Linked DNA regions of Homo sapiens: region 1 is linked to region 2. Evidence: promoter capture Hi-C in human tissues and cell types (Jung and others, 2019). All regions are on one chromosome and are shown on one strand. Each heading gives the region's core, a stretch centred on a gene start or on the middle of the fragment in contact. The rest is flanking DNA. Distances are from core to core; before and after follow the strand shown. Region 1 has its middle 4.2 kb from the start of LINC00628. Region 2 holds the start of SOX13 (SRY-box transcription factor 13).

Region 1 (2,971 bases), core at 152-2,651, 290 kb before region 2:
CTCAGATTCTGCAGGGATGGTGAAGCGCCTCTGCCCAGCCTCCTGGGGCAATGGCACCACCAGAGGGAGCCCCAGTCTAGCCAGGGCAGGGAGGACCCTTGTCTCATCCCCTTTCCGTCCCTCTCTGCTTTGAAATCCTCATCCATCTGTACTAGGAGGGGTTACGTTTCCAATCCCCCACCGCCAAGATCTGCCAGCACTTAGATCTGCCACCATCTACCACCTACATCAGCTTAGCCGCTAACCTATTTTTTCTTTTTTTTAAGATAGGGTCTCACTCTGTCACCCAGGCTGGAGTGCAGTGGTGCGATCTCAGTTCACTGCAATTTCCATCTCCGGGGTTCAAGAGATTCTCGTGCCTCTGCCTCCTGAGTAGCTGGGACTACAGGTGCCCACCACCATGCCTGGCTAATTTTTGTATTTTTGGTCAAGATGGGGTTTTGTCATGTTGGCCAGGCTGGTCTCGAACACCTGGCCTCCAGGGATCCATCCACCTTGGCCTCCCAAAGTGCTGGGATTACAGGCGTGAGCCACCATGCCTGGGCCTGTTAACCATATTCTTAAAGCGAAAGCAAATTTTTCTTTTCTTTCTTTTCTTCTTTTTCTTTTTCTTTTGTTCCTCCTCCTTCTCCTCCTCCTCTTTCTCCTCTTCTTCCTGCTCTTCCTCCTTCTTCGTCTTCCTTTCAAAGTATCTGTTCTGGAAATTATTCTAATATCACATGACAGTTATAGACTGAATTTTTCCTGTTTGGACCCAAATGCTTCTTGCTTCAGTTAAGAATTGTGAATTGTTTCTTCTTTTCTCCCTCTTGCAGATACCATCTTCATATTCCTTTTGGTACATGGCTCTAGAGATTGTTCACTAAACACTTTCACATGTATTACGGCATCTCACCAGTCCCTAGAAACGTACCTGTCCACCTCTCTGACCTCGTGTCCCATGACTGGCTGGCTGTGCTGCCATCTTTCCTTCCCACCATCATGTCAAACCCATTCCCACCTCAGAGCCTTGGCGCTTGCTGTTCCCCCTGCCTGGGAGCACTGTCCTCCCATTTCCACACACCTGGTTCCGACTTCTCGATTAGCCCATGTCACCTCCTCAGAGAGGCCATGCCTGACTGCTCTGCCTGAATTCCCCCACCCCTCCACACTCTTACTCTTACTTTTCTTCACAGCACCTGGCACTACCTGAAACACGTTTGTTTATGTATCTGTTTGGTTATGTATTTCTGGTCCCCCCACTGCTGTGTAAGTCCTGGGAGCAGATTCTGGCTATTGTGTTTTTCACTCCCTCCTAGAACCTTTCTGGTGCATGATAGCAATCCAGTATTTCCTGAAATGAATGCATGCATGATAAACATTGGGAGACAAACAACACAGGCATAATTGATTTCTGCTTCAGCTACCAGCCCAGAGCTTTCTTCTGAGCTCCCTCAATTCATTGTGTCCAGACTTGAAGTCATTGCTTCTCTGTGCCGGTTCCATCTTTTCTAGAAATACCAGCAAAGCAGAGCCCTCGGAGATACCCTCAACCTTTCCCGCTCTCATGCCTCCCCCATGGGTCCTGTCAATTCTCCTCCCAAATATCTCTCAACCCACCCACTTCTCGATATCTCCATAGCCATGGCCTGAGTTCAGGCCCACATGGACTCTCACTTCCATTATTGTAGAAGCTTTCCAACTGATCTTCCTGCCTCCAGGCCATAATGCTGCAAGAGTGCTTTCTTTCTAGAATTCAAATTTGGTCATATTATTCTCCATTAAAAACTTTGCATGTTACCCGTCACTTACAGGATAAAATCTAAATTCCCTATCTGGGCACGTAAAGGGCATCATAGTCTCGCTCCCGCCCCCCTTCCCAGCCTCACCTCCCACACTCCCCACCTGGCTCTTTAGCCCTCTCCTCTAGCCCTGCCAAATCACTTGTGGTTCCCTCAACATTCGCTTCCCTTTCATGCTTCCGGGGCTTTGTAGGTGCCAATCTCTCCTCATGTGGCTCATGCCCACCTGAGAACACTTGTTCTTCCTTCAAGCCCTGCCCATGATGTCACTTCTTCAGGGATGTGTCCGTGTATGGTAGTTATTTGCTTATACTTGTGTCATTTTCCACTAGATTAGTAACTCTCCAACTGGAGCGTGTATCACAATCACTGGAGGGTTTGTTGGAGCACAGATGGCTGGGCCCTACCCCTAGAGTTTCGGATTCAGAGGGTCTAGAATTTGCACTTCCAACACATTCTCAGGTTATGCTGCTGTGGCTGCTCTGGGGCCCACACTTCGAGAACCAGTAGCCTAGACTGAAAACTCATCAAGGGCAGGGGCAACACAGGGGGGTCGTAAAGTCCGGAGACACAGGCAATATTGTTTAATTATCAACCAGCCATGAATTCTGTGTTCACATACATTTCCAGACCTGGTGGTCATTCTGTATATCATAGCAGCAGCCGCCACTCTAGGAGCTAAGTGCTTTATGACATTATCTCATTTATTCCTCACCGCACCTTTATGAGGAGGTTCTATCATCCCGCTTTTAGCAAATAATGGGAAAACTGGTTCTTCGTATGTATTACTCAATGTCACAAAGCTTGTATTAATAGAAAGCAAGCGGGAAGGCGGCCTCATGTGTGCCTGATTTCACAGGCTTTGCTCTTAGCATGATGGCACGGCTGCTTCCCAGCATCCTTGGCACCTTGCTTGGACAAACGAAGTGCTCAGTAAGTTCTTGCTGAATGAGTGAGTGAATGAATGAACGACTGGCTCACCGTTCGTTCCTATTTTCACAGTTCCCACAAAGGTTTATGACATTTGGTTGGTGGATGAGTTAGAAACTCAAACGACTTCAGACATGGATTCCAAGTAATAATAAGAGCCAGACAACCGGAGGAGTTATTTTGTTTCTTTTAGTGTGGATGAGGGAGGGAAATTTCAATGAGCAAATATTGACATTTGCCCAGGAGCAGACAAATGTGTT
Region 2 (3,309 bases), core at 33-2,532:
GGCTCACCTACGATATCCCAGGGCGGGAGGTGGGGGTAGCAAGAAGCAGCCTGCGGTGGGGGTGGGGGTGGGACAGGAGCAGCCGGAGCAGAAAACAAACAGGATGCCGCGCTGGTCTGGTCCGCTGGGGAACGACCCTGAAACCGTGGCAAGGGGAGCGCGTCTGTCCCCCAGCACCCCACGCAACCATGGTGGAGGAGCTCTGCGCCTCGTCGCAGGCACCTGAGCCCCACGCAGGACGCGCGCAGGTCGCTTCGGCTTCCCGCTGAGAAATCCTTAAACTAGGCGCATAGTCGGGCTGATGAGAAAGACCTAGTCCTCTGCGGTCGGCGAGGAGCGGGTTGGGGGTGCACCCTAAGCTCGACCCGCGTGGTGAACGCGCGCGCGCGCGCGCGTACACACACACACACACACACACACAAACACACACACAGCCACGCACTGCCTTAGAGGCTGCCATCCCTCTCCACAAGGACCCAAGTCGGCCAGGGAGGAGCCGCCACTGCCCAGCGTTGTTGGGGGTAGGTGAGGGTCCGTCTCTCCTCGAAAAACTTTGCACAGGGTGGAAACTCGCAGGGAAGAGAGCCGGTGGGTGCCCAGAAACGTAGGGGCGCAAGTGTCAAACTTCAGAGAGCTGGGGAAATGGGCGCGACGGCGCGATCATGGCGGGGAGGGGTGCACTTACTACTCAGCCAGGCGCCGGGCTCGGGGCTCGGGGCTCGCGGCTCCGCGCTCCTGCTCCTCCTCCGTGCGGTCCTCGCGGCTGGCAGCCTAGGCTTCCCGCTCACATGCCCCCGCGACGCGGCGGGCGGGCCGGGTTGGGGAGGCTGGGCTGGGAGGGGGCACGCCCCCCGCCGTCGGCCGGGGAGTCGCTGCGGACCCACGGCCACCCTGGGTCCGCGCCCCACGGGGCCCGCCGTCCCGGGCGGCGAGCTTGGTTCCGGCCGGGCGGCGCCCTCTCCGCCGAGCCAGGCCGCTCTCTGCCCTCTGCCCTCTGCCCTGGGCTTGCGGCCGTCTCCCTGCCTTCCGCGGTCCTGCTCTGCGACTCGTCGGACGCGCAGCCGGCCCGCCCTCCCTGCTCTTCGGCTCTCACGCTCTCCGGCTCCAACCTCAGCGCCTCGGCTCGATTCCGAGTCAGGGCCTACGAGGCTGACCGCTGAGCTCTGGGCTCAGACCTGGGCTCGCCGGTTCTGGGCCCGGGTTCCAGGACCCGTGCTCACACAGTTCAGTTCCAAGCCGGGACTGGAGAAGGGCGCTCGCGGCTCGCTGCTGCGAGGCGACTGGACAGCCTAGAGGAGAAAGAGGGAGGGAGACCGAGAGCGCGCAGGGGGAGGAGGGAGGGAGGGTGGGGACTTGCAGAAGAAGGGAGGGACAGAGAGTTTCCTCCTCCTCCCTGCAGCCGGGTCCATCCAGGCATCAACAGCTGGAAACCTCTGTTGGAAAGGGGAAAGCTAAGGTTTACGGGCGGCGGGGAAGGGTGGGGGTGGAGTGAGGGGGTGTAGAGAAGAGAAGAAAGAAGGATTCTGCCCGCTCCCACTGCCCAGGTATGAGGGTCGCTACAGAGAATCTTCACTCCTTAAAGCAAGACCTAAGAAGTTATTGGTCCAGCTCCAAGCCTCCCAACCCCTCCAAACAGATAGCCTGGACTCGGGTTTTTTAAAAACCCCATTTCTCCGGACTTCCCTTAAGAACCTGATCTCTGCCGGGCGCGGTGGCTCACGCCTGTAATCCCAGCACTTTGGGAGGCCGACGGGGGCGGATCACGAGGTCAGGAGATGGAGACAATCCTGGCTAACACGGTGAAACCCCGTCTCTACTAAAAATACAAAAAATTAGCCGGGCGTGGTGGCGCGCCTGTAACCCCCTACTCGGGAGGCTGAGGCAGGAGAATCGCTTGAACCCGGGAGTGGGAGGTTGCAGTGGGCCGAGATCGCGCCATTGCACTCACTCCTGCCTGGGCGACAGGGCGAGACTCCGTCTCAAAAAAAACAAAACCTGATCTCACCTGTAGCTAGACGGATTCCTGATATCTCCAACCACTCCCTAATCCTGTCATTTGCAGCCTCTCAAATAAATCTTATTTTCTCCTGTCCCATTATATGGGAGGGTGGGGGAGAATGGAGAGTTGGTTTCCTTTCATTCAACGTATTTATCAAATGTCTACATATGACCGGGCGCAGTGGCTCACGCCTGTAATCCCAGCACTTTGGGAGGCCAAGGCAGCAGATCACCTGAGGTTGGGAGTTCGAGACCAGCCTGGCCAACATGGTGAAAACCCCTCTCTACTAAAAATACAAAAATTAGCCGGGTGTGGTGGTGCATGCCTGTAATTCCAACTACTCAAGAGGCTGAGGCAGAAGAATTGCTTGAACCCAGGAGGCAGAGGTTGCAGTGAGTGGAGATCGCACCACTGCACTCTAGCCTGGGTGACAGAGTAAGACTCTGTCTCAAAAAAAAAAAAAAAAAAAAGTCTACCTATGCCTGGCTTACCGGGGTGCTGGGGACACGAAGACAAATGAGACGGTGTCCTGCCCTTTCTGGATTCTGATTTTGTAAAGGAATGGGTGAATATACCATTGCAGTGAAGTGGAGAGGGCTAAGATAGGGCAGGCAAATGGGCACAGGGCCACCAAAGACACTGGGATATGGGGACTGGAACTTCTTGGGGGAGGTGGCATCTGAAATGGGTCTTGGAAGGACCTGTGGGTGTAGGGCAGATTAAAGGAGTGACAATCATGGACCTACTAATAAGTCTATGCCCACAGTGTGGGTGGCCAGCATGTGTTCAAAGGTGATGGTCAGCAAGGCTCTGAAGGCCTTCTAAGGGCTCATCCTTGCCCACTGCTTTGCCTGGCTAACTCCTTTTATTCATCTTTTAGGTCTCAGCCTAGACATCAACTTTCCCTGAAGCCTTTCTTGATGGCCATATCTGGGCCAGGTGCCCCATCTGTGGGCTCTGGAAAAACCCCATTTGTAAATAATATGGTAACCATTCATTTGTCTGTCTCCGCCCTGGACTGTAAGCTCCACAAGGGCAGGGATGTATCTCTCCAGTGTGCCTAGCCAGAGATTGGGAAAGAGCAGGCCCTTCATAAATACTTATTGATCAATACTTGTTGATGGAAGGAAATGGGGAGCCACTGAAGGATTCTAAGCAAGGTCTCAGATGGCATCAATCTAGCTGGAGGTAGGAAGGAGGCCAGTGACCAGACAATGGCAGTGGCCAGGGTAAAAATGATGCAGGCCTGAGCTAAGCTGGGAGTAGGGGGAATGGAAAGGAGAAAACAGGTGGGTGTAAGAGAGTGGGAG

The links. The method cuts DNA at HindIII sites, captures the fragments that hold promoters and counts their contacts. A contact is called where the count stands out against the background at its distance.
Region 1: a contact is called between a fragment that was not itself captured here and the fragment with the promoter of SOX13 in region 2, in 2 of the 25 tissues and cell types used here (heart right ventricle and liver).

The regions. Positions count from the first base shown.
Region 1 is chr1:204,364,053-204,367,023 of GRCh38, reverse strand. It overlaps a transcript of PLEKHA6 not described here. Among named protein-coding and RNA genes, the nearest start is that of LINC00628, 4.2 kb to the left of the region's middle. The HindIII fragment of the contact is 5,440 bases long and covers 1-2,971 here.
Region 2 is chr1:204,071,088-204,074,396 of GRCh38, reverse strand. SOX13 (SRY-box transcription factor 13) reads right to left here and starts at 1,282. Exons shown (of 14, transcript NM_005686.3): 1 at 686-1,282. RefSeq lists an enhancer at 1-603. The HindIII fragment of the contact is 26,498 bases long and covers 1-3,309 here.